Regions from separate parts of the Homo sapiens genome. Here regions 2 and 3 are each linked to region 1. Evidence: promoter capture Hi-C in 16 types of primary human blood cells and fetal thymus (Javierre and others, 2016). All regions are on one chromosome and are shown on one strand. Each heading gives the region's core, a stretch centred on a gene start or on the middle of the fragment in contact. The rest is flanking DNA. Distances are from core to core; before and after follow the strand shown.

Evidence for each region. Contacts are between HindIII fragments. The CHiCAGO score rates a contact against its expected background, and 5 or more counts as called.
Region 2: a contact is called between the fragment with the promoter of HMGN4 here and the fragment with the promoter of H3C10 in region 1, in 9 of 17 cell types (non-activated CD4 T cells, monocytes, activated CD4 T cells and 6 more). The highest score is 9.5, in non-activated CD4 T cells.
Region 3: a contact is called between the fragment with the promoter of HCG11 here and the fragment with the promoter of H3C10 in region 1, in 5 of 17 cell types (monocytes, naive CD8 T cells, M1 macrophages and 2 more). The highest score is 10.5, in monocytes.

The regions. Positions count from the first base shown.
Region 1 is chr6:27,808,689-27,811,388 of GRCh38, forward strand. It overlaps H3C10 (H3 clustered histone 10), which reads left to right and starts at 1,363. Exons shown (of 1, transcript NM_003536.3): 1 at 1,363-1,848. The coding sequence starts at 1,386. The coding sequence ends at 1,796. RefSeq lists enhancers at 1-345, 1,029-1,700, 1,317-1,606, 1,701-2,372. The HindIII fragment of the contact is 5,605 bases long and covers 158-2,700 here.
Region 2 is chr6:26,537,112-26,539,811 of GRCh38, forward strand. HMGN4 (high mobility group nucleosomal binding domain 4) reads left to right here and starts at 1,255. Exons shown (of 2, transcript NM_006353.3): 1 at 1,255-1,390. TRR-ACG1-2 (tRNA-Arg (anticodon ACG) 1-2) reads left to right here and starts at 387; the gene lies at 387-459. TRV-CAC1-6 (tRNA-Val (anticodon CAC) 1-6) reads left to right here and starts at 943; the gene lies at 943-1,015. RefSeq lists enhancers at 1-205, 1,466-1,875 and silencers at 239-532, 926-975. The HindIII fragment of the contact is 7,010 bases long and covers 1-2,700 here.
Region 3 is chr6:26,520,411-26,523,110 of GRCh38, forward strand. HCG11 (HLA complex group 11) reads left to right here and starts at 1,296. Exons shown (of 1, transcript NR_026790.1): 1 at 1,296-2,700. TRL-CAG1-7 (tRNA-Leu (anticodon CAG) 1-7) reads left to right here and starts at 798; the gene lies at 798-880. LOC107986583 (a long non-coding RNA gene) reads right to left here. Exons shown (of 4, transcript XR_001744057.3): 1 at 1,099-2,700. RefSeq lists silencers at 402-1,001, 1,232-1,751. The HindIII fragment of the contact is 10,867 bases long and covers 1-2,451 here.

The DNA of each region.
Region 1 (2,700 bases), core at 113-2,612:
CACTATGTTTAATGTAATTTCTCGTCTTTGCCTACTTCTAAACCACTCCAAAGGTTACGTAGATCAGTCTTCGGTGTCTTGGTTAGGTAGTGACAATCTCGTTAGCTTTATAAAAAGCCTGGATAACATTAAAAGTATTAAACACGCCTTCATCTTAAGCTTAGTGGAAGAAAATTTAGTTTTTCCTAAGCTGGCATTATCCAAGTATGTTGAATTCTGTATGGTTCACCGTCGGGTTTTACTTTTAGTCTGTTGAAGCAAACATGTCTGCTTTGGGGCCAGATGTTTTCTGGGTCTTGGTAAATAACAAACCGGGCATTCGACGTTCAATCCAAATCTAGATCAACGACTTGGATTCTTCATTTCTGAGAAATATCTCTCGAATCTGTATAATTAATTGCATTTGAACATTAATGATTGAGTTGAGAATAATTATTAGACTAATTAGAACAGTTACTTATGGTGCCAGGTAGTTCTCTTTGAAGCATTTTCTGAAAATTCATTGAAATTAAAATTTCCCGAGCTTTCCCACCCCCAGCCACACAAATTGATTTCTTAGTACAGAGATGACTTAATTTGTTTCAGCATGGTAAATTCCACTTTTAAAATATCTGACTTGATGTTTTTAATCTGAATCAGATCTGGATGTACGAATGGAATAGATTCTTAAAAGAAAATGAATTACATTTCTAGAGTATTGGAAAAATAAGCTGCAATGGAATTACTTTAATCTAAAAGTGAAAAGTTCACATAAAGTTGTTTCTTTGACATTTTTTGGCCTTGAATTTCTCACATGCGAACCAGCTTTTCTTGGTTATAAAAATAGAAGTTTTTTAAATTTAAGTGGTCAAAAGATAGAAAATTGAGGGGACAGGTGTATAAGGCTGTCCTGTCCAGTATTGCAGCCACTAGCCAATTGTGGATAGTGATCATTGGAAATTCCATAGCATGAATTTTATATAAAATACACATTGCATTTGGAAAAGTCAGTGCCAAAAAGTGTAAAATACCTAACAATTTTAATTTCGATAACATTGAAATATGTTGGCTATATTGGATTAAGCAAAATATTAAAAATTAATTTTTCCTTGTTTTGTTACAATGTTCTCCTAGATAAGTGTAAATTACTTATATTGCTCTCATTTCCACTGGAAATCGCTAGTATAGTGAACAACTGTATAGCGAAAATAGAAAATAAAATATGGAGACCATGAACTGCTAAGTCTGTCAGAGGAATAGGTGAACAACAAAAATTTGAGTCCTTCGCCAATCCGGTTACTGTTGGGTAGGCCTTCAGCATACTTTTGTCCAATCAGCTTCAGACTCTCACTATAAATAAGCGGCTAGCTTTCTCTTTCTCCTGAAGTGAATCTAGCTCTGAAGGCATGGCGCGTACGAAGCAGACTGCTCGCAAGTCCACCGGCGGCAAGGCTCCGCGCAAGCAGCTGGCCACCAAGGCGGCTCGGAAGAGCGCTCCGGCCACCGGCGGTGTCAAGAAGCCCCATCGCTATCGGCCTGGTACAGTGGCTCTCCGCGAGATTCGCCGCTACCAGAAGTCCACCGAGCTGCTGATCAGAAAGCTGCCTTTTCAGCGTCTGGTGCGTGAGATCGCGCAGGACTTCAAGACCGACTTGCGCTTCCAGAGCTCCGCGGTGATGGCGCTGCAAGAGGCATGCGAGGCCTACCTGGTGGGGCTCTTTGAGGACACCAACCTGTGCGCCATCCACGCCAAGCGGGTGACTATCATGCCCAAGGACATCCAGCTCGCACGTCGTATCCGCGGCGAGAGGGCTTGAGTCTCAAGGACTCACTGATTACATACCCAAAGGCTCTTTTCAGAGCCACCCACATGCGCGCTGAAAAGATCTGTTTCTCTCAGGAATTCTTCCTGGTACTTGTTTTGCCTGTAGTAGATAGGGCCCATTTCCAGACGTTATACAATCTGTTTCGTAAGACTCAGCCTATCCCTTTTTGAATGCTAATTTTGGGAGTCTTAACATCTAATAATGTCCGGCATTTTTCCGTAAGCATTGAGTGTAGCCAAAAGTTCCTTCGTGTATTGCTCTCCCATCTCCGCAGCCCGGTTTTGACCGGATGGTGCTTCTAATTTTCTGCTAACCTGTACTGTGGTGTGTGTATATTTCTTGCCAACACGCCAGAAATAAAACTAAGGTTGTACTGAAGTTGGAAAAATTCAGGTTAATGTAGCTCATGCTGGCTAAAGTGAAACGTTCTCTCCCCGCCCCCCGTTCCTAAGCAGTGTTAAGTTTTCTTTGAATTTTTTCAAGCCGGATTTTGGGCCTGCTTAAACCACTTAAATGTAGTTAATGACAGATGGTTTGAGGTTTAAAAGTCTTCTGGAGAAAGCCCGCCAGAGAACATTCCCTTTGAAGCCCCATGTAAAAATACGTGTGGGAGAGAAAGTGTTTTCTCTGACTTCTGCTGACAGTGGCTAAAACTCTGAACTGTCAGGAGTATTCAAAATAAGACTGCCTTGTAGGTAAGCCTGTGGTAGTTTTTTTGAGCACAGGATAAAATACTTGAGTCTTTGCTTAAATGTTACTTTCTCAATGAGGCTTTGTATGACTAAATAAAATCTGTATAATCCCCACCTATTTTTTTCACCCTAGAATTTGTCACTATATGCTGTACCAGAGTTTGCTGATGTATTGCTTGTGTGTTCTAAAATACAGGCTCATG
Region 2 (2,700 bases), core at 5-2,504, 1.3 Mb before region 1:
TATCACTATTATTTTGTTTATTTAATGCTTTATTATCCGCTTCCGCCACTGCCATGTAATCTTGAGGGCAAGGGTCTCTCATGTTTTCTTCACCGTTATCTGCAGTGCCTTGAACACTAATACTGGTTGAATGAACGAACGCATTAATGGAGCGGTGATATTGGGGCAGAGAGGATGCAGGGCTTGCTTTTCACCGCCATTTTTCAGCCGGCAGAGACAGACCGAGAAAGGAATGAAGGCCACGGGGCGTGTGCAGAAGTAGCTACCAGAGAGTCCATGCGCTGCGAGCCTGGACCAGCGGGCAAACGCGGCTTACAGGCGTTCACCCAGATATTACGGGTACAACCTAGTTTCTTATGAAATACCTCGCCCCTAAGGTACGCGCAGGGCCAGTGGCGCAATGGATAACGCGTCTGACTACGGATCAGAAGATTCCAGGTTCGACTCCTGGCTGGCTCGGTGTAAGCAGGGTCGTTTTACAACTTTCTGACTCCGCAGGAGTAAGGAAATTCCTGCAAGATAAATTTGCCTGGAAGACTCAGAAGCAAGAGGGGCAGCTCCCGACAACATATGGGGTTATCATTTCTTTGCGGAGCATTCTGCCACTGACCACGTGGTAACGCCAACTACGCCAGAGAAACGCTCGCCCTACCCAAGTTGTGCCCAGCCTTGCCTGGCCATTTTGGCCGAAGAACGAAGGACCGTTCAGAGATTAAATTAAAGTCTCTATTGTGTTCTTCCCTATTCAGTCATTTGTAGAATAAATTCTATGGCTTCAGTTTGAACACTGGAGGGGCTGGGTCTGAGCTTTTCATTGGTTTTTCTGGTTTGAGAGGTCGGTACAGAGACGCACGCGCACATCAGCAAAACACGCACTTGGAACGAAGAAACACGGAACTAGGCAGGAAGAACTATTTACTCTGAAAAATAAGCCCTTAGTGGGTTTCCGTAGTGTAGTGGTTATCACGTTCGCCTCACACGCGAAAGGTCCCCGGTTCGAAACCGGGCGGAAACACGTTTTTTTTTCCTCATCTTACTACGAAATTCTTCCAGTGTGTATCTTTTAAAGACTTTTTCAGGCTGTCATAAATTTCCTGTCTTCTTGTCTTGCTAGATCGGGGCAGCAGTGCTTAGGGCGGGCCTCAGAGGCTCACACACGTATCGCCAGGGGGAGAACCAGCTCTCTCCGGCTTGGACTCGGGGCGGCTCCCCGCCTGCAGCCCCGGAAGCGCATCCTCACCTTCCCTCGCCTTCCTGTTCCTGGCGGAGCCGGGCTCCGCTCGTCTTCTCTGTCTTAGGGCTGGTGCTGGCCCTGCCCACGCCTAGGGCTCCGGCGCGTCACGGGCCTCAGCTGGGATTCCCGCGCCCCTCGGACGGCCACGAGACTCGGGTAAGTGCCTCACAGACTTTGTGCGCTACCCCGGAAAATGAGGGGCGTGGTGGGGGGGGTCCCGCCGCCCTCCGTATACTTAGGACCCTCCTGCCAGCTGGCCCCGGTCATGATTAGGGGCCTTGGGCCCCGTCAGCCCCGCCTGTCTTCCCGTCTCCAGAGTAATCGCAGCATCTCTCCTGAGCTCCGAGTGTGAATCCCTGGGAAAAGCTGAATCCAGAGGTGGGGTCACAGAGAGCCGCAGGCCCGACCGGGATGAGAAGTCCTAATCGGCGTTCTAGGGGCGTTCTAAAAGAAGGAAGGAAGGGGATTTGAAAGGATTGCTCCCGCAGGGCTGTGGCCTTAAAGAGGTGGTGACTGGCAGGTTGGACTGACCTGCCGTGGGCTCTCCCTTCCTCCCCAATTTACCTTCGAGAAACCCTCGTTGAGGAGACACCCAAGGGCTGAGTCCTCCTCCACTTTGACCTTTTGCTATTCCATCACAAAGAAAAAATGGATCCCAAAGTTAAGAAATGGACCAGCACTTGTTTAGAATCAGGACTGGTGCCTTGGTGTTTGGCCTCTTACCTCTGCCACATGGCTTGCTTACAAGTTAATCGGATTAATCAAACGCTTTTATGAGAAAGTTTTGTTGTGTCACCTGGCAGCCTCGGGTGTTCCCTAAGAGGGATTTCTTTCTTAGATGTATTACTACTTTTTCTAGGGATTAGCCAAGCCTAGCCTCTCAGATCATATTGCTCCAGGTTCCCTCAAATGACTAATAAGAATGTGATGTGTTTGTTTTTGTTTGTTTGTTTTTGAGACGGAGTCTCACTCTGTTGTCCAGGCTGGGGTGCAATGGTGCGATCTCGCTCACTGCAACCTCCACCTCGATTCTTGTGCCTCAGGCTCCCGAGCAGCTGGGACTACAGGTGTGTAACACTACACCCGGATAATTTTTGTATTTTTAGTTGGAGACGGAGTTTCACCATATTGGCCAGGCTGGTCTCAAACTCCTGACCTCAAGTGATCCGCCCGCCTCGGCCTCCCAAAGTGCTGAGATTACAGGCATGAGCCACCGCGCCCAACCGAATGTGATATTTTTATGACCATGAGAAAAGAAGGGCTGCATTCTTTGGTGGGTCCGCAAAATTAAAAAAAAAAAAAAAAAAAGAAAAGAAAAGAAAGAAAAGGACAATGTTAATGAGCTGTTTTCTTTTTATCATTTTCTTAAACAGGCTGCTTGGGTAGACGTTGACTTGAAAGGTCCATTCTTTTGTCATCTTGCTGGTTCCCTTAACAAGACAACACCTTGGCTAGCAAGATAATAT
Region 3 (2,700 bases), core at 46-2,545, 1.3 Mb before region 1:
AGCTACTCCCCATTTTTGTTGTTGCTGTTTTTGCTTTTGCTTTTTAAAGTTTTTATTACAGTATAACATCCACACCGAAAAGTGCGCAAATCCTCCATAAACTCCGACAGAGAGGCAAGACAAGCCAGGCTTCCCACGCTCCTGTCCCCTCCACCGGCCCTGCCAAGGGTAACCACGTGCTGGGAGATTTGCAGCACAACGCAAAGGAGAAGGATTAGCGAGCACCTTGTTCCAGCAAAAACTGGAGCAAGCCTAAAACTTCCTGGGAATTAAGTGTAAATTTAAGCCAGGTATTCTAGTAATGTTGAGTTCAACAGGATTGCCATTATTTTAACTAGAATTCAGTTGAGAGCAGAGCGCCATCGCCGTCTTCCGCCTTAGTCACTCGGCCCTGGGCTGGCTCACGCCCGCCCCGCCCCCTCCCCGCCCCTCCCACGCCCGCCCCGCCCCTCCCACGCCCCCGCCCCCGTCCCGCTCCCCCTACCCCGACCCGCCCTCCCTCGCCCGCCGCCCCACCCGCCGCAGCCCTCCCCGCGCAGCCTGGGAGTGACTCGGCGTTCACTCGGGAGACGCCGCTCTGTGGCCCGGACAACCGGTCCTATGCAGCGCCGTCCGAGGCAGTTCGCGGAGAGGCGGCTTACCTTTTAACCCAGGAATGCCCATATCTTGAGAAAAAGAACAACAAGGGGGTGGGCGGGGGTGGGGACATGGGGTAGGGGGGCGGCTGGTGGATGGGGAACTAATAGCGTTTAGACAAGAGACAGAAGTGAGTCCTGAGCACAATGTAGCATAAGCGCGTCAGGATGGCCGAGCGGTCTAAGGCGCTGCGTTCAGGTCGCAGTCTCCCCTGGAGGCGTGGGTTCGAATCCCACTCCTGACAGTTCGTACTTTTAGTATTTAGACACAAATCGAGTTTAAGTTTACGCTACGTTTTCCTACCTGCTCTTTGTGACATGGTCTTCTCTCTTTTTAAAAAATAAATTTTCCGAGTTCCGGAATAAAAGCACTCTTTGTTTTTATTAGCCACTCCAAGGACAGCAAAAAGTACTCTGTACTCCGAAAATAATTTCAGAACCTACCGGTGTTTTGAAATCTCACCTCCTTTTTCCGTTTCTCCTCTGTCTCTAGTTGTCTTTCCCTCTCCCTCCTTCACAGGCAGAGTTGAATAAATGTTACTCTTCAGTTCATGGCTCATTACATTACTGCAGGGCTCCTCTTTATTTAGTTATAGTTATCTTTTTAATTCCATTTCTTCAGTCTCATTCCCCACCTCATCCTTACTCCCCGTAAGAAATCACTGCAAGAGTTCCGGTCTGGCAGAGAGCGCGGAGAGACGCAGAGCGCGGGCCGCTCCTCCAGGGCGCTCCAGGCCCTCCGGCCCCGGGTCGGCGGGTGAGCTAGGGGGCGCCCCGGGACAGGCCGCGCCCTCTGCCCTGCAGATACCGGAGGCCTCTGCTGTGGCTGCCCACTGGCTGGGCCCAGGCCTTGAAGCGGTGGCGAACGTCTCTTCCCTACCCTACCTCGGTGACTGATGGCGGCGGCGGCCTCTCCCAGTCCGGACCCTGCCGGCCGTCGGGTCTCCCGGCCCAAGCCTGCCGGGCCTGGACGAAACCCCCGCCGAGCAGCCTGGACGCAGCGCCTTTGGGTGGCGGCGGGAGTAGCGTGCCGGGAAGCATGGCGGCCGCTCGAACGCCGCGCGGCGGAGGGCGTTAGGGCATGGAGGGCCCGGGAAGGCGGCCTAGGGACGCAGGCAGGCTCGGCCGCCTCTTCAGGCCACGGAGCCGCCAGATCTGGGTCCCGGGTGACCACTCTGTCGCCATTGGGCGAGACCTACCTAGTCCTAACGACAACGGACAAAGGCCTTAACGGGCCTGGGAGGTGAGCGAAGTCCCGAACGACGACGGGTGGAACGGTTAGCGGCGATCGGGCGGTTGGTCTCCGTACTACCAGACCTTGCTGTCGGAAGAGACAAATGGTAGAATGACAGGCCACGTTTGGCCCGTTGGAAATGCCCTCCATCCTCTGGGAAGATTCACAGGCCGTTTACGGAAGGCCTGTGTATATAATATGAAAAAGCTGCTCTCAACTCCACCCCAACCTTTTAATAGAAAACATTTGTCACATCTAGCCCTTCTAGATGGAAAGAGGTTGCCGACGTATGATAGAGTTAGAAAGTCACACATCTTGTAAATTCTCATTTGTTTAAAAGAAATCATAGAAAATACATGTCTTCCGGAGTTGACTTTTGGAAACTGAGTTGTTAGACGGCCTCTAGAAGCGATACGTTCACGTTTGTTCAGTGGGTTAGATGACATGGAGCTCGAAGACCTGAGAAGGAAAAAAAGAAGGTTCTATGCTAGACTGGTCATATTTAGAAGACATTTTCATATTCTATCCATTGTTTTGTGTGCATTCGCTTCCTCACTACTATGTATGTAGTTGACAATGCTAAGCTTTTTTGAAATGTCTATTCTTTTTAGATATTCTGAAGTGTCTGATATATGTTAAAATTAGAGGTAGTAAAACCACATTTTGTAAATATCTTTTTGTTACAATTCATAGAAATGTTGTTTTTTGGGGGGAATGGCCAAATCACCTGTTGAGTAATACTCATTGTGTTTGTGCAGTAGTTCAGGGGAGGAGAGAGGAGGGGGAGGTGCAGAGAGCTCTATGCCATCCTGCTTACAGCGAGGCAAGATG